4 separate regions of the Homo sapiens genome follow, and all the other regions are linked to region 4. Evidence: promoter capture Hi-C in 16 types of primary human blood cells and fetal thymus (Javierre and others, 2016). All regions are on one chromosome and are shown on one strand. The core of a region is centred on a gene start or on the middle of the fragment in contact, and the rest is flanking DNA. Distances in the headings are between cores, read along the strand shown. Region 1 overlaps XPNPEP1 (X-prolyl aminopeptidase 1). Region 2 overlaps ACSL5 (acyl-CoA synthetase long chain family member 5). Region 3 holds the start of GPAM (glycerol-3-phosphate acyltransferase, mitochondrial). Region 4 holds the start of BBIP1 (BBSome interacting protein 1).

The links. The method cuts DNA at HindIII sites, captures the fragments that hold promoters and counts their contacts. A CHiCAGO score of 5 or more calls a contact.
Region 1: a contact is called between a fragment that was not itself captured here and the fragment with the promoter of BBIP1 in region 4, in 1 of 17 cell types (monocytes). The highest score is 5.3, in monocytes.
Region 2: a fragment that was not itself captured here is called in contact with the fragment with the promoter of BBIP1 in region 4 in 1 of 17 cell types (erythroblasts); the score reaches 5.2 in erythroblasts.
Region 3: a fragment that was not itself captured here is called in contact with the fragment with the promoter of BBIP1 in region 4 in 1 of 17 cell types (erythroblasts); the score reaches 6.3 in erythroblasts.

Annotation. Positions count from the first base shown.
Region 1 is chr10:109,911,415-109,915,691 of GRCh38, forward strand. It overlaps XPNPEP1 (X-prolyl aminopeptidase 1), which reads right to left. Exons shown (of 21, transcript NM_020383.4): 2 at 3,597-3,685. Among named protein-coding and RNA genes, the nearest start is that of XPNPEP1, 10 kb to the right of the region's middle. RefSeq lists enhancers at 1,426-1,475, 1,822-2,477. The HindIII fragment of the contact is 2,633 bases long and covers 257-2,889 here.
Region 2 is chr10:112,375,943-112,379,964 of GRCh38, forward strand. All of the region lies in intron 1 of ACSL5 (acyl-CoA synthetase long chain family member 5), which reads left to right. Among named protein-coding and RNA genes, the nearest start is that of ACSL5, 3.8 kb to the left of the region's middle. RefSeq lists enhancers at 1-24, 1-406, 165-384, 407-907. The HindIII fragment of the contact is 4,411 bases long and covers 1-3,881 here.
Region 3 is chr10:112,183,201-112,187,490 of GRCh38, forward strand. It overlaps GPAM (glycerol-3-phosphate acyltransferase, mitochondrial), which reads right to left and starts at 565. Exons shown (of 22, transcript NM_001244949.2): 1 at 493-565. RefSeq lists a silencer at 483-712. The HindIII fragment of the contact is 4,662 bases long and covers 1-3,918 here.
Region 4 is chr10:110,916,546-110,920,791 of GRCh38, forward strand. It overlaps BBIP1 (BBSome interacting protein 1), which reads right to left and starts at 2,635. Exons shown (of 4, transcript NM_001195305.3): 1 at 2,576-2,635; 2 at 1,576-1,668. The coding sequence starts at 1,612. It overlaps SHOC2 (SHOC2 leucine rich repeat scaffold protein), which reads left to right and starts at 3,059. Exons shown (of 9, transcript NM_007373.4): 1 at 3,059-3,112. RefSeq lists silencers at 1,969-2,128, 2,979-3,418, 3,429-3,518 and enhancers at 2,260-2,799, 2,489-2,688, 2,709-2,758. The HindIII fragment of the contact is 2,602 bases long and covers 1,797-4,246 here.

The sequences.
Region 1 (4,277 bases), core at 323-2,822, 1.0 Mb before region 4:
TTTCGTCTAATCTACTGGGCCTATAATTTCTCACCTATCAGAGAAAAAGGGATCGGAAGTATCTGGTCTGATCCAAGTTTATATGTCAACACCTCCACTGGGGGTTCAAAATAAAGCCCATTGTGATCTCCCAAGCTTGCCAGCATCTAAAAATTTTACTCTGATATCTTTCAGGAGCTTCAGAATAGATTTATTGTGTTTTCAAACCATATTTCTGAGCAAGTTATCATTCTTAAAAACAGTCAAGCAAAAATGAAGCTTTCTTTAGGAGCAGGACTTCAACACTGGCTGCACATTAGGACTATCCGGGAAACATCTGACTTAACTGGTCTGGAGTACAGCCTTGGCTTCAGGAGTTTTAAAATGCAAAAATATAAGAGTCTAATATACTTTCTTTCAAGATCATTTATTTCTTTATAGACTCTGCCTTCCATTCAGGTACATTCTGACGTAAGGATTTTGGTGGCACTGACTGGGTGTTTAGTGCTGATTGTAGTATCAATATTATCAGTCACTAACTTCATCAATAACGTTAACACAACCAATCATGAGCACAAAATCTTCAACTGCAAACTAAAAACCAACAAAAACAAACTGGATCTGTTCAAAAACATCCTCTGCTTCCTGGTCATCACAACCTGCCTCCTCATTCCCACATTCTGATCTTCATCACTACCACCATCACATCATCACGTTTCCCCTGGTGACTGGCATATCAGACCCCCACAGAATCATCAGCTTTATCAGTCTCACTGACACTCCCCTCCACAATGCTACCTACCCCCATCAACACTCAACACTTTCCCTCTTCCTACTTCCTCATCCTTCAGGCCGATCACATTCATGTTCTGGGTGCAATGCAGCTACTTCTTTATCATCAATATTAGACATGATGAAAGAAGTCCCAATACCATAACCAATAGTTAGGATGTGGTAAGGGGCAGTGGCAGCAACAGTGAAGGTGAAGAAGATAGCAACAGGCAATGGCTGAGGCAGTGAGGCAGCTACCACTGAAGTGAATACAGTGGGCCCTGGTGGTTGAGGCAGCTGTACCCACAAGGAAAACAGGTGATGGAAAGTGATTGAATGAGTGAGCAGCTGGAGCTAAGGAGAGAACAAAGTTGGTGCAATTATATAAGTCCTAGCCATTGAGGTGGCACTGGTTGAAAAGGCAGCCAAGATGGAGGAAGTGAAAGTTGTAGCTAATGACCCTCATAATTTGTATAAGGAGTAAATGAGTTACTATACATATGGCACTTAGAAACAGTACCTGGCACATAACAAATGTCATGTAAATGTTTAATGTTATTAGAGTTAGACACACAACTAACCATAAATGCAATGTGATAAATTGTGTAAACAGGTGTGTATACCACTTCTCCGGAAGGCAGGGATGATGTCATCTCTGTATCCATGTATCTACAATTAACATATACATATGCTCACTCAAAGATGGCTAAATCAAATTCACAACATTGGATCTATGATCTTTTCAGTCTCAATGAACAGTAATGAATCTTCAGTGACAGATAGGCTCTTGCAAGGTGCTGTATTATGACATCTGCTCATTCCACATCCTATGACTTTTCAGAAATGTTAGAAACAGCCAAGAGCTAAGCAAAGTATGCAGCAAAGTAGGAAGCCAAGAGCAACAGGCCTAGTCCACGATGAAACATTAGCCCATACACTGCCAGGTATTTTCAAACTATGCCTTACAGAGAATGACTCACTTAAAAGTCTTGCATATACAGGTCTGCTTTTAGAAATAAGTTCCCACACCTTCAGCCTTTATCACAAACAAGATTTTTCACTGATTGTACATGAAAAGCACACCATACTTACCTCACTGGTGGCCAGGCAAATTAAACATGATAATGTGTGTGAAAGCACCATGCACAGCATCTATTACACTGCAGGAGCTCAAGAAATATTTGAATCTGGATCTGAAGCACCAGCTGGAATTCCCAAGTCTCGTTATAAGAATGGAAGGGGCCAGTTTACTCCAATTTCAGCATCTTAACACGGGCACAGATGCTCTTCCAGCATCAATAGCTTTAGAGGTAGTGGTTTGTTTCTCTGTTGCACAGCTGAGGGAACGCTAAGGGCTTTACATACATTAGTGGCTAATTCTCACAACAATCCTCCAAGGGAGGTTTCACTATTCTCATTTTACACATAAAGGAACAGGAGTTAAAAGGAGTTAAGTACTTGCCCAAAGTCAGCTGGTTCATCAGGAACCGGGACTCAAGGTCTATGCAATTCCCAAGTCCATGCTCTATTACACCATATTAGCTGGGGGACATAATAGAGCCTTAAAGTGTTCTAAGACCAACAGAAGCAAAACAAGTGAGCTCCAGTTTCCAGCTGGGATCTACAACCTCAGGCAACTGAAGCTACCTAACCTCTATTTCCTCATACATTACAAAAAGAAAAAGAAGTTATCTTCCAACTCTAAGTTTAATGATTCCATCACTTTTTTCCTTTCTTTACTTTCTCTTTTTCCTCCTTCCTCTGCTACCTCCTAATATGGTCCAAAATGTGTTGGATACATCTATATTTTTTAAAGAAAAAGGATCTAAAATTGCATGCAATTATAGCACTGATCTTCCAAACAGAGATTAGACGGGCATGGTTTCTTATGTACTTCAAGAGATCAATTTTTCAGTCAGCTAAAAAAAAAAAAAACACATGGTTCTCCTTAGTAGTCGTTAGAGCAGTACTGGCTTACTGGGATAGAAATACAGTAATACACCACTTTTCAGAATTCAGGTTTCTGGCAACCCATCAGACAATTAACCAGTTCTGGGGAGAAGGGACAGCCAAGAAATATTTCCCAAAAAGACTTTCCTAAATGCACACTCAATTTATAAAGGACAATAATATATTACAAGCTTTTCTCATTTTGCAATCTTATGATCAAAATTGAAAGCTAATTTCTAAGATAATGAAGGACTATATTAGAGAAATAGAGAACATTTTCCATAATAACCTATCTCCTTCTCCACCACCACCACTCTGACAAAAATGGAAAACGAAAAAAACAAACAACAAAAAAAAAGTTGTAATTCTCTAACTTACTACCTTAAAAAAAAATGGTAATGGCCAGGCGCAGTGGCTCATGCCTGTAATCCCAGCACTTTGGGAGGCCAAGGCGGGCAGATCACCTGAGGTCGGGAGTTCAAGACCAGCCTGGCCAACATGGAGAAACCCCATCTCTACTAAAAATACAAAATTAGCTGGGCGTGGTGTCGGGCGCCTGTAATCCCAGCTACTCCGGAGGCTGAGGCAGGAGAATCGCTTGAACCCGGGAGACGGAGGTTGCAGTGAGCCGAGATCACGCCATTGCACTCCAGGCTGGGTGACCAAGGGCGAGACTCCGTCTCAAAAAAAAAAAAAAAAAATGGTAAATATATAGAAACAGTAACCAACCACTTAGGAAGCCAAAAAATAAAATGGTTTTTAACTTCCAGATACTAACCCCCAGTCATGATCTGTTACTAATTCCTTACCCTCTTCTTCTCACCCAACCTGGGGTTGGGGTGGAGATCTAAAATCCTTTACAGATGTTCCATCTAATTTCCAGACAAAATTATTACCTGTTTCCACACCTGTGTCTCCTGAGTGTGTCACCTCGTTAGGTTCAATTATTCTTAAATTTCTCAGTTGAAAATCCTGGTGATTCACCCTTAAGGAGAGAAAGAACAGGAAGTTGCAGACTTTGACCACAATAAACGTGGCAAGGCTCAGTTAGAGGAGGCATCGCTTAACTTAGCAGTTCTCTAACATGAGTCAGAAGAACTTTCACCCCCATTATCAGTGGCAGAATAAATAAAAGTTTGATGTAAAACTTGCAGGTGTAAAACATCCCCATGGCAGGTTAACCTTCTCAGTTGCAGCTTCTAGTTCATAAATTCTCACACCTCCTATTTAACTAGACTAAGAAGACTTATTTTCAATGTTTTTTCCTTACACAAGTTCTATTTGGTTCTTTTTCACATCTGCCCGTTCTTTCTTTATGGTGTCCTATTCTTGCACTCTGGTTTCTATGCCTTCTCTTTGTGCCTTCATTACTGTAGGCCCTTATTTTATAATTTCTCCCATACTTTCAAATAGATCTTGGGAGACTAACCCTCATGTTTGCTAGGTCTGCTGCCTCTCCCTCTTGGTGGTTCATTCCTTCTGCGTTTTGTGATCTTTTATTAAGAGCTTATCTTCAATAGAGGCTATTTATCTATGAGAATGTGATGGGTCCTGGTTTGTACAAGCAGTTCTGTTAT
Region 2 (4,022 bases), core at 426-2,925, 1.5 Mb after region 4:
GAACAGCGTCACCTCTGCCTCTGTGAGGCTTCTGATCTGAGGGGGCACCTCAAGTCATTTTAGTTTGTTTGTTTTCATCTTAGTTGAAAGATGATAGGCCACAGGAGGGCAGGGTCAACTGTGTTGAGGCAAGCTGGCTTTTGTGTCGGCCCTTAGGGGCTGAGGTGAAAGGCTTTGACACGGAGCCAGGGTAGCTTTGGCAGCTTCTCCCCTCCTGGTCAGAACACTTCCACTTTCAGTTGTGAAAAAAAAAATTAAAACCAGGAAGTGAAGTCCCCGAGCACGTTAGAAAGCCTGACATGGCCTGACTCGGGACAGCTCAGAGCAGGGCAGAACTGGGGACACTCTGGGCCGGCCTTCTGCCTGCATGGACGCTCTGAAGCCACCCTGTCTCTGGAGGAACCACGAGCGAGGGAAGAAGGACAGGGACTCGTGTGGCAGGAAGAACTCAGAGCCGGGAAGCCCCCATTCACTAGAAGCACTGAGAGATGCGGCCCCCTCGCAGGGTAAGGGGACCATCGAGGGGGTGTTATTCAGCAAGGGGGTCTTGTGAGGGTGTGACAGAGGCCAAGGGGGCATCCTGACCCCCGACTTTCTTTAAGCGACTTAGAATCAAGGGCCGGCTGAGTTCCACGGGCACATCATGCTGTCTCCCTCCTGGTCTCGGTCATGCCTTCAGACCCTGTGTCAGGAGGAGCAACGGGAAGGAAGGATGTGGGGCATGCATGGGGCTCACTTTCCTTCTCTCGACTCTCTTGGGGAAGGTGAACCAAAACAGAGACCTCTTTTTGTGGGTCTGAGCATCCAGCATAGCTCCCCTGAGGTGGGCTGGGGGTTTGCCCTCAATTTTATGTTGGGTAAGACTGATGAATGAGACCAATGGGGTGGGAGAGACAGATGAATGGAGCTGAGTGTATTTTAGGAAGTAAGGCCACAGGTTAAGTCTCAGGTGCTGCTTAATTCCTAAGTACTTCCTTCCCAATGCCCACTCCCTGAGGGTCCTAAGGTGAATCTCAAAGACCCTCAGGGAGTAAGCACTGGAAAGGGACTCTACCACTGGAGACCCTCAGGGAATAAGCACTGGAAAGGGACTCTACCACCGGAGACCCTCAGGGAATAAGCACTGGAAAGGGACTCTACCACCGGAGACCCTCAGGGAATAAGCACTGGAAAGGGACTCTACCACCGGGGCTTGGTACCTTCTGAGATATCAGCCTTTTTTTGGTGGTCTGAAAGGTAGAATTGAATCTATAGCTCCAATGTGTAGGTGATTAGTATTCTATATCAGAGGCAGAGTCTTAAAAAATAAAGTTAAGGCCGGGCGCAGTGACTCACACCTGTAATCCCAGAACTCTGGGAGTCTGAGGTGGGTGGATCACCTGAAGTCAGGAGTTAGAAACCAGCCTGGCCAACATGGCGAAACCCCATCTCTACTGAAAATACAAAAATTAGCTTGGCGTGGTGGCGTACGCCTGTAATCCCAGCAACTCAGGAGGCAGGACAATTGCTTGAACCTAGGAGGCGGAGGTTGCAGTGAGCCGAGATGGCACCACTGCACTCCAGTTTGGATGACAGAGCAAGACTCTGGCTCAAAAACAACACACAAACAAACAAATAAAAAAACATTGAAAACTGACTTAGTTTTCTTTTAAAAAAGGAGTAATTGGTTTTGTTTATTTCTCCCTTCATATTCTGATATGGAGTCACTCTGTGGTAGTCCCCTCCGATTGATCAGTATTCAAGGTTAAACACAGAACATGTCTTGAAAGAGGCATGGTGTAAAATTTTATAGCCATCTTTTGTGTATTTGGCATAATAAAAGGAACAAAAACCTAAATAAAACAAGAAGTGTAAGTGCAAATGCTTATAGGACAGGCAAGTAATATAGAGAAGTAAAGTAGATGGTGTGTAATAAGATGCTAATGGTGGAAACTTTAGCAAAATTCAGAGCAGGCATACCCCAGATAAATGCATTCAAATTTAATTATTAAAAAAGAGAAAACACTTTTTAATCCAGACCAAACAGAATATTTCAGCCTAGCCTGACCTAAAATAGTCTCTCCCAGGCTATATTGTAATTTTTTGAGGGCAAAGACACCAACAACAACATCAGCGTGTCATTGCATACCTAACCATCCACCTATAGTGAGACCACAGATACTACATGGAGGCTGGAGATGGAGGAAGGAGAGAGAAATGAATGGAGAGAGGGAAGATGAAGCCAGGGAAGTACCAGTACACAGTAGGTACTCTTATATTTAATCAAGACAATCTTCTTCTTCTTGTTTTTTTTTTTTTTTTTTTTTTTTTTTTTTTGGAGGAGCCTCACTCTGTCACCTAGACTCCCAGGCTTGAGTGCAGTGGCAACATCTTGGCTCACTGCAACCTCTGCCTCCCCAGTTCAAGCAATTCTCCTGCCTCAGCCTCCTGAGTAGCTGGGATTACAGGCATGCACCACCATGCCCAAATAATTTTTGTACTTTTAGTAGAGACAGGGTTTCACCATATTGGCCAGGCTGGTCTCAAACTCCTGACCTCAAGTTATCTGCCTGCCTAGGCCTCCCAAAGTGCTGGGATTACAGGTGTGAGCCACTGCACCTGGCCTATAGGATTTGCCAGCTTCTTAGAAACCAGGAATACAGTGTCTGCTCCTGTCTGTCTCTCATATGCCTCCTCAGCAGATGAGCAGACCCTCAGCTGGAGTGCAGTCAGAGGTGACTCTTGTGCCTGGCAGCATCAAGCAAGGGTGACGTAACCCCAGCAGCCATGAGTCCAGCCATCACTGCTTATCACATTCTGCTGGAAATGCATCTGGGTCTATTTCTCCCCTCTATGTCTGTACATCCTGAGGTCGGAAAGGGACTCTCTCACCAACTTGTCCTCCCTGGCGCAGGGCCTGACACTTCCTAGGTTCTCAACTCATTGTTTGAATAAATACATGAGATCTGGAGTTTGGAAGGTCAGACAGCCCGTGCAATGCTGTGGTCAGGCCACACTATTAGCCTTCTTTGGGGAAGCTGGTGGATCTCCCAGTCTTCATGGGCCATTCTATTCTAAGAGTTGTGAGGTTGCGAGTGGCTCAAGTTGAGGATTTGAGGTCTGGGGTAAAGCTAGGTCAGAGACAGGCCATGGTTCCCTACAACTAGAAGTGCTCTGTTTAAATAGAAATGAGGGCTTGTTGGCCGGGCGCAGTGGCTCATGCCAGTAATCCCAACACTTTGGGAGGCCGAGGCAGGCAGATCACTTGAAATCAGGAGTTTGAGACCAGCCTGGCCAACATGGTGAAACCCCATCTCTGCTAAAAATACAAAAGCTAGCTGGGCGTGGTGGCAGCTGCCTGTAATCCCAGCTACTCGGGAGGCTGAGGCAGGAGAATCGCTTGAACCCAGGAGGCGGAGGTTGCAGTGAGCTGAGATCTCGCCACTGCACTCCAGCCTGGGTGACAAGAGTGAAACTCCATCTCAAAAAAAAGAAAAAAAAAAAAAAGAGATGAGGGCTTGTTAAAACCTTTGCACAGAAGTGGAGGGGCAGTAATCGTTCAAGACCGTGGTCATCTCTTTTCTTTTGGGACATCTCGTAATAGAACATCTGATATTGGCAAGGATGTGAAAACTGAGGAAAAGGGAAGGAAAGGGGAGCTAGATTTGATTGAGGACTTCCCATGTGCCTGACAGCATACCAACTGTTCTACACACAGCATCTCCTTTAAGTAGCGATTTTCACCTGCTCCTTCTGTGTACAGTGGCGGGGAACTGATGCTCAGTGACTCTAAGTAACTGTCCCCAGGGCTACACATGTAGTAAGTGAGGAGCTGTTGCTCTGGTACCTGGAAGGGCACGACCTTGAAAGTTTGCCCCTGGCAATGACACCGTTGACAAGAAAGCTTGTTGCCTGCACTTTGAAACTGTTGACCCTTGACCACTGGTTGGGACAGGCAGTGCAAGGGCTGATTCTGCAGAAAACTAAGGCAAGAAGTCTGCTTTCCCAACCTCTTGCCTCACCCTGGCACAGGTGACAGGGTC
Region 3 (4,290 bases), core at 338-2,837, 1.3 Mb after region 4:
GCAGAATGATAGCTCTTAACCTCCTGGATTGTTGAGAGGACGGAATAATATAAACAAAGGGTCTACCACAGTGTGTAACACACAGTGAGCGCTCAGTCCAATCAATGGTAACGCTGTCATTAATTATCTCCAGCATACCGGCTGCTCTCAGAGTACCCCTTACTGCCTCAATGTTCCCTAGGGACCCAGGCGGGCTGGCTGGCGGCGCCTCCGCGCGTGCAGATACTTAGGGGACTGAGTCCATAAGGACTCCTTCCAACCCAGGGGAACCCATGCCCCAGCGCAGTCTCCCCAGGAGAGATGAATCCTGATCCCCACCCCTGCACGAGCCCGACCGATTTCTCAGGGAGAAGACCGGAGCTCGGGTGTCAGGGAATAGGGGACACGACTGCCCCAGCAACTTGCAGGAGTCGCACCACCTCCATGCACTTGTCCCGGCGCTCCCGGCCCGAGTAGCCTCCCGCAGCCCACACCTGCCCTGGCAGTTCGCACCCTAGCAGCTCCAGCTTCGGCTGCTGCAGAAGCCCGCACTTCCAGTCCCGGCCAATGCCAGCTGCAGTGGCGCACCCTGATGACGCAACCGGCGCGTGGCATTGACGCGGGGCCGCCGGCTAGCCAGCGCCGGGGGCGGGGCCCGGCCTGCGAGCCTCAGGGAGCGTGAGCGGATCCGAGGGTGTAATGTGTGTACTCGAGTGTGCGTGCCTGTGTGTGGCTAAAGATAGTGTGTGAGCGCCTGGACAGATGGTTACCCTGCCTAGGCCATGCGTGTGTGAGTGTGTGTGGGTACCTCATTCTGCTTTGTGTAAATTCAGCTTATCCGGGAGCTTGTCCCTCTTCCAGGCTCTGTTGGGAATGTGCGCGTGGGCTATCAGGTTATGTGTGTGGTCTGACTTTTTATGAGATCTGTAAGACTATGTAGGATTTACTACGAATGGGAGAGGCAGGGATTGCAAATGGCCATGTTGTGTAATTTCTACCAAAGTGGCTGAGTGCCTTTTCCTTTAAGGAGGAAAATGAGATATGAAAAGAAGCAAATAAGGCTTGTAGTATAAAAAGCCTCAGTTAGGAGAAATAAGGGCTTTTTTCCCCCTTCGGACTATATGTTACACAGCATGGTGAATATAGTAAATAATAATGTATTATACAGTTCAAAATCGCTAAGAGTACATTTCAAAAGTTCTCACCATGAAAACTGAGAAGTATTTGAGGTGGATATGTCAATTAGCTTGATTCAGTTATTCCACATTGTATTCATAAGTCATAACATCGATTTGTACCCCCTAAATATATGCAACTATTTAGATAGTTTAAAATTTATAGCAATCCAGTCTAGCCAGCTAAGATGGAGCAACAGGACTGAATTTACTCTCCTGCCTAAAACAACTAAAAACAAAAACAAACAGGCATTTATAAGACAATGGCTTTTAAACGTTGTGCTGGACAGTGGTCCTTGAGGAGGGAAAACAAATGAGGTGAGCCCTATGATTGCCTTGATTTACTAACTAGAGGGAGCAGCCAAAAAGAGCTAGGCAGACTCCCTGAGTTGAAGAGATAGAACTGGGAGAGCAGGGAGGCCAAAGCAGCTGGAACTGTGAGTTGTATATCAGAAAGGAGAAAGCTACACAGAGAAAGAAGGAGCTGTGGAGATCTACAACAGATCTCACTCCAGTCTTCCGCTGATTAGAGCATGTGTGTGAGGAAGCTACCTAAGGGCAGGAAATAATCATGTATGAAGAAAAGAGAGAGCAATTACTAAAGTTTGCACAGGGTAGGAAATTAATTCTGCTCCCACAAGGCAGAGTAGAAAGATACCCAGTGATTATACAGGACCAGAAATAGTGCCTGATCCTGGCACCCCGACTGGAAAACCTCATAATTCACAACTCAAATGGTTTTGCTTCAGTAGTGGGGCAAAATTAGCTCTAATGTAAAAGCTACTCTGATTCTATCTTAGAAATCTTAAAAGCCAGCCACCAAAGGATTAAACCGTTTTTGAGAACAAAGTGTCCCAGAGCAAAGCACAAGAATATTTACAGGAAATTAAAAATAACCAACACCTAACAAGGTAAAATTTGCAACATCTGGAATCCAAACAGAATTATCAGGCATGCGAAAAGAAGCAGGAAATGAGAAAAAAAAATCAACCAATTGAAATCATCCCAGAAATGACAGAGATGATAAAATAAGAGAACAAGGACATTAAGAAAGTAATTATGACTGTATTCAATGTTTTCAACAAGTAGAAAAAATAAACTGAGCATGGGAAGTAGAGATGTGAAAAATCTTTAAAAAAAAAAAAGACACAAACCAAACATCTAGGAGATAATAAAACCACATCTAAGATTTTTAACACCCTAACACACACACACAGACACACACACACACACACACACACACACACACACACACACACACAGGATTAATAGGTTAGACATTACTAAAAAAGAAACAGTAAAAAACCTGACGGGAGGCTGAGGCAGGAGAATGGCGTGAACCCAGGAGGCAGAGCTTGCAGTGAGCCAAGATTGTGCCACTGCACTCCAGCTTGGGTGACAGAGCGAGACTCTGTCTCAAAAACAAAAACAAACAAACAAAAAAAAACTTGAAAGCATTGTGATAGAAACTATCCAAAATGAAACACTAAGGGAAGAAAAATACTGAAAGTAAAAGTAGAGTATCAGTGAGCCTAGTATACATGCAATTGTAGTCCCTGAAGAAAATGAGAAATATGAGGTGAGAATAGATTAGGGAGGACAGAAAAAAGCATTTGAAAGAATAATTGATGAAAACTTTCCAAATTTGACCAAAACTATAAACTTATAAACCCAAAAAGCTCAACAAACTCAGTAGAAACATGAAGAAAACCATACCAAGAAACATCACAATCAAAATGCCTAAAGCCACTGATAAAGAGAAAATCTTAAAAGCTATCAGAGAGAAAAAAAAAGACATTACTGTACAGAGGAACAAAGATAAGAATGACAGCAGATTTCACATCAGAAAAATGCAAACCAGAAGATGGTGGAGCAGCATCTGAAGTACTGAATGAAGAACCTATCAATCAAGAGTTCTTTTTATATTAATATATGGTATGTACATTTTATATATTTTTATATATATCAAAAAAATAAAATAAAAACATATTTTGACATCGAATTGCCAAAAGAATTCATCACCAGCAGGACCGTTCTATAAGCAATGTTAAAGAAAGTCTTTCAGGCAAAAAAAAAATGCTGTCAGATGGAATTCTGAATCTATGCAAAGGAATTAAGAGCTTAAGAAACCACAAATACGTAGGTAAATAATTTTTCTTATTTTTTAAACCCTTTTATTTTAATTTATTTTATTTTATTTTTGAGATGGAATCTCGCTCTGTCACCCAGGCTGGAGTGCAGTGGTGCAGTGGCGTGATCTCAGCTCACTGAAACCTCCTCCTCACAGGTTCAAGCAATTTTCATGCCTCAGCCTCCCGAGTAGCTGGGATTACAGGCACCCGCCACAACGCCCAGCTAATTTTTTTCTGTATGTTTAGTAGAGTTGGGGTTTCACCATATTGCCCAGGCCGGTCTCGATCTCCTGACCTCAAGTGATGCGCCTGCCTCGACCTCCCAAAGTGCTGGGATTATAAGAGTGAGCCACCATGTCAGCCATTAAAACTCTTTTAAAACATGATTGCTTAATGCACAAACAAAAACAATATTTTGTGGGGTTTATAACATGTACAAATAAAATGTATGATGACAACAGCACAAAGTCCAGGAAGGGAGAAGTATTCTGTTGTAAGATTCTTATCTTACGCACCAAGCAGTATAATATACTTGAAGGTAAACTGTAATAAGTTAAAAATGTATACTTTAACTCCTAAAGCAACTACTATGAAAGCAAAACTAAGAGTTATTGTTAACACATCAACAAAGAAGCTTAAGTCGAATTTTTAAGATGTTTAATGAATTCAAAAGAAGGCAGTAAATGATGGGGGAGAAAAGAAAGAATAGATAGAATAAAGAGAAAATACATGGCAAGATGATAGATTTAAGCTCATATAAGTAATCACCCTAATTAAAAGGCAGATATTGTCAGACTGGAAAAAAAATGAAGATCCAATGATATGCCACCTATTTAAAAACTCACTTTAAATATTAAGACAAGTAAAAGTAAAAGGTTAGAAAACAGTATGCTATACTAATGCTAATCAAAAGAAATATAGGTGGGTATATTAATATCATATAATTTCAATACAAAGAATATTATCAGAAATATAGAGGATCATTTTATAATGATAAAAGGGTC
Region 4 (4,246 bases), core at 1,385-3,884:
GCATGAGAATTTCAGTGAGAAAAATAACATTGCCTAAATTGGAATGTGACCAGATGGCCAACAGTTGCCTTGGTATTTGCTTTGATAACATCAAGATTCATCTGTATTTGAATTGCAGGGCCCACACATCTTTCAACAATGTCTGCAGGGTGCCAGGAGTTGACACTCATAAACTATGCTGACATCAGTACACTTTACTGCAGAAAGTCATTGCATCAGCTCCAAGAATAGGCAAAGTAGCAGCAACACTTTATTAAAGGTAGTCAATGTTGCCAACCCAAGGCACTAACACATACTCTATACACACAGGATTAAATGCTACCCTCTTCTTTGTAGGACACTGGAGAGGGGTAAGCATGCTAAGAAGTGAGATGGATTTAACCAGCAACTCACGGCAAAGTGCGTATAGCTGCGTTTGAGAAGGCTTAGTCATGACTAGAAAAGTGTGAATACTGTGACATATCCTTGCAAAAAAAATGTTCAGCTTAAGCCTCTAGACTAACTTCTGGTTTACAAGAAGAAAAAAGAGGGGCCCATTTCCAAAAAGACTCCTGCCTTGAACTCTTCAAAATGCCAATGTCACAGGGGGAAAAAAGATGGGGGAACTCTACTACATTAAAGCTAAAGAAAAATTTTGACTGGATCCTGATTTTTTTTTTTTTTTTTTTTTTTTGCAGGATTGGGAAGGAGAAGGTATAAAAGATATTCCTGGGTAAATTAGGAAAATTAGCACTTGGCCTAGATTTTAAAAGTTACAAAACAGCTGAAATAATGATATTGTGTTTTGCTGGAGAACTTCAAAATTCTTAGGAAATTCATGCTGGAAATCTTAAGGGTGTCTTGCCTAACAATAAGTGTCTGCAACTTTTTATGACAATGAAAAAGTGGGGAGGAATGAAAAAAAATGGCAAAATGTTAACTGCTGCATATAGATGATGGGTACATGAATATTCATTAAATTATTTCTTTCAGCTTTTAAATATATGAACACTTTCATAATAAAACACTGGGGAAAAAAATCATGTCAGAAAGACTTCACAGGGGAAACGTAAAACAAAGATTGAGTAGCAGGCGCTCAGCTGAATTTCTGATAAATTGAAGGTCTCTAAAACTTGGCTGGAAGTGTCTTGGGCATCCAAGAGACACCCGATATATTCAAACTTTCAGTAAGTATTTACCAAAATAATATCATGTGCATGGTGAAAATGACGGGAAGACGAATCTGATACAAACCATTCTATTTAGGTGCAGACATGGTAGTGAAGCTAAAAACATAAGCGCTATTATATATATATAACATACTGATTGTCATAAAAGATGTACAAAAAATGCTAAACTCAGAGGAAATTACTTCCTGCTGGGAAGAATCTGGAAACACATCTCCACGGGTAACAGAATCAGATACAGAATCACAAAAGGTGACTGCTACAACAGATTTCAGTAATTAACAGCAAAGAAACAAGAGTAGTTCATTTTGGCTGGCGTGTAAGTACTAAGGAAGCAGAAATTAAGTCGAGAAGGTAGGTTTGCATCTGTATTGTTGACTGGCTGGATATTAACCATTTTCAATTTTACCTGAAAGTTCTGGTCTTTTTGCTGCAGCTTTAAGCATCCAACCCGGTATTACCAAGATGACTTAGAGTTCTTGACTCAAGCATACAGAAGAAACTACAAGATAATGTATGATAACTTTGTAAAGGGCCATATAAAAGCAATACAGTATTTTCAAAAATCTTCAACACGTTGTTTAAGAAACTGTAGACCTGCAGGAATCCCACCACCAGAACCGCAGTCAAAGCTTACAAAGACTCAAAGGAGAGACGCGGAAAGGGGGGAAAAATCAGAATGGGAAGGCAGGTGGCAGGGGAAAAAGATTGAGGTCCTGCCCTGGTGGTAGGGGCTCATCTTTTCCTTTTATAGGTGAAGGTGGAAAATGATTTTCTGAAGTTCCCGAATTCTCCTCCCTCCAAAGGCCAAGGAGTGAAAGTACTTAATAGGAACTTGCGGAGGCGTGGTCAAGAGCTCCGTTTTGCCGGAGTTAGGAGCTCCGCCCCGAGGTCCCCGCCCATTCCCCGCTGGGGTCCTCCCGGCCGGGCTGCCTCTGGCTGGGTTAGGGCGGCCTGTAGAGCGGCCTCACCCCACAGGGAGCCTCACGGGGGCGGGCCGCCGCCAGGCCAGCCCGGAAAAAAACCGCCTTCCAACGGAAGCGGCCCTGAGCCCCGCTCGCCATTTCAGCGCTCTGTCCCACAGGGACCGTCCGGCCCGGGTCCGGCCCACTGGTTGGGGTCCACGGACTCACCTCACTTTGCAACTAAGGTCAAAAATAAGCATTCCCTGGGGCACGGGCGGCCAGGCTATTAACACCCTTCCGCCATGACCCAATTCGGAAGTGCCAAATGCAACTTCCGGGCAGGAGAGGGAATTTCGGAGCCCTAAACTGTTGTCCATCTCCGTAAGTGACCAGACGTCTCAGTAAAATAAGGGCCAGGAAACTGGACGTGTAATCCGGAGTATGAATTAACTTGTCTAACATGGGATGTGTGGTCACCCACGGTACCTCTTTGGGCTTACTTACAGATGCATCCCTTCCCAGACGGCTCAGCTGTTGCCCCGGGTAACGGTGAGACTGGCGAAGGAAAAAAATCTACGTCACCCTGGAAACAGGAAGCCAGGAATCTCCTTTTGCCATTATCAGTTATGGCCGCCTTAGCTTCAACAGTAACTTCCGATCGGGGAGTTGTCACTCTACCCTGCTGGAGGCTTACTCTGTAGCCCGGCTAGCCAGAGGCGCCCAGTGGGCGGGAGACGGCGTAGAGGAACTGAGGAAAGGACAAGGGCGGAGAGAGAGAAGCTGGCGGCACTGCCCGTCTCTGATTGGGCAGCTTCTCTTGCCCCGGTTCCGCCCATTTTTCTTGCCTAGCGAGTGACGGGCCCACGGCAGAGGGGTGGGGCGGGGAGGCTGGAGCGAGAGTAGTGGCGGGGCGGGCGGGGCGGGGCGAGTGGGGGAGGGGCGGGCGGGGGGCGGCGGTTGGGCAGCGTCGCTTCTTAGGAGGAGGAGGAAGAGGAGGAAGGAGGGCGAGCGAGGAGGATGGCGGAGTCGGGGCTCCTGACGGTAACTCGGGGCCGATGAGGCGGAGGGTGTCTGTTGGTCGGTTCTTCCTGCCTGCCTTCCTGTCCGTCGGGCAGTCGGGCTGGCTGTCGGTAGGGGGAGGCCCCGTGCGCCCTGACAGGCGCGAGCCGGCAGCGCCGGGGCGAGGCCCGAGGGGCCGGGGCCCTGGGAGGCGCCGCCGCCGCCGCTTTCCTGGTTGCTGTCTCCGGGAGTGCGGGGCCCTTGGAGCCGGCTCGCGTGGGAGCCTGCAGCCCGGCGCGGAGAGGAAGGCGGTCGGGTGTGACAGCGGCCGGGGCCGGGCCTGCGGCGGCGGCGGCGGGCGGCCCGGACAGCGCCTGGGCGACGGCGAGCCGGCGCGAGGGCGCGGGCCGGGGGCCCCCGGCGGACAGTCTCTCTCCTCTCGGCTCCCTGGGCCCCCGGGCCCAGTCCGCAGGGCGCCCCGAGTCGTGTAAATCGTTGGCGAGGGCCCGGGCGCAGCGGCGGTCATACAGGGTGGGGTCTCTTCTCGCCCCCTCCCTGGAGTCCACCTTGCTCTCCCGTTCTCCTCTCCCTAAAAACCCTTGAGTGAAGAGTGCTGGATCGGCTCTGGGTGTGTTGCCTAGCGAAGCGAGTTGTAGCCCTTCGAGACCGCCTCGTAGAACATGCCCGATGGCAACCTCTCCCCGTGATAGCACAGCTTTTAGGGAGAGAGGAAAAGTAGTCTCACTCTTCCCCGACTTCCCCAGGCTCATAACACAAGAGGCTTTGGGGCAAGACGATTTTTCCCCCAGCACCTCAATATCCATTGTTTTTGTACCATCCCCCTCCCCCCATGCCTAGGTGGAAGAGTAATGACTCCAAAGCATTAACTTGCCTTTCTCTTTATTTCTTTTCTTTCTTTTTCTTTTCTTCCTTCCTTTCTTTAAGCAGGCAGTTTGTGTTATTGTGGAATTATGGATTTACAAACAGGTGGAATAAATACCGATTCGGGAGCTAGAAAGAAGATGCTTTGTGTGTGTGTTTAAGCCCTTACAGTTGGCAGTTTGATTTTTCTTGTCTGTTGCTTTGTATCGTAATGGGGGTGATGAGAATAAAAGAGGAAGCACTGTTTTGCAACCTACCCAAAGAAATATTTTCGAAGTCTCTGGGGATGCTGAA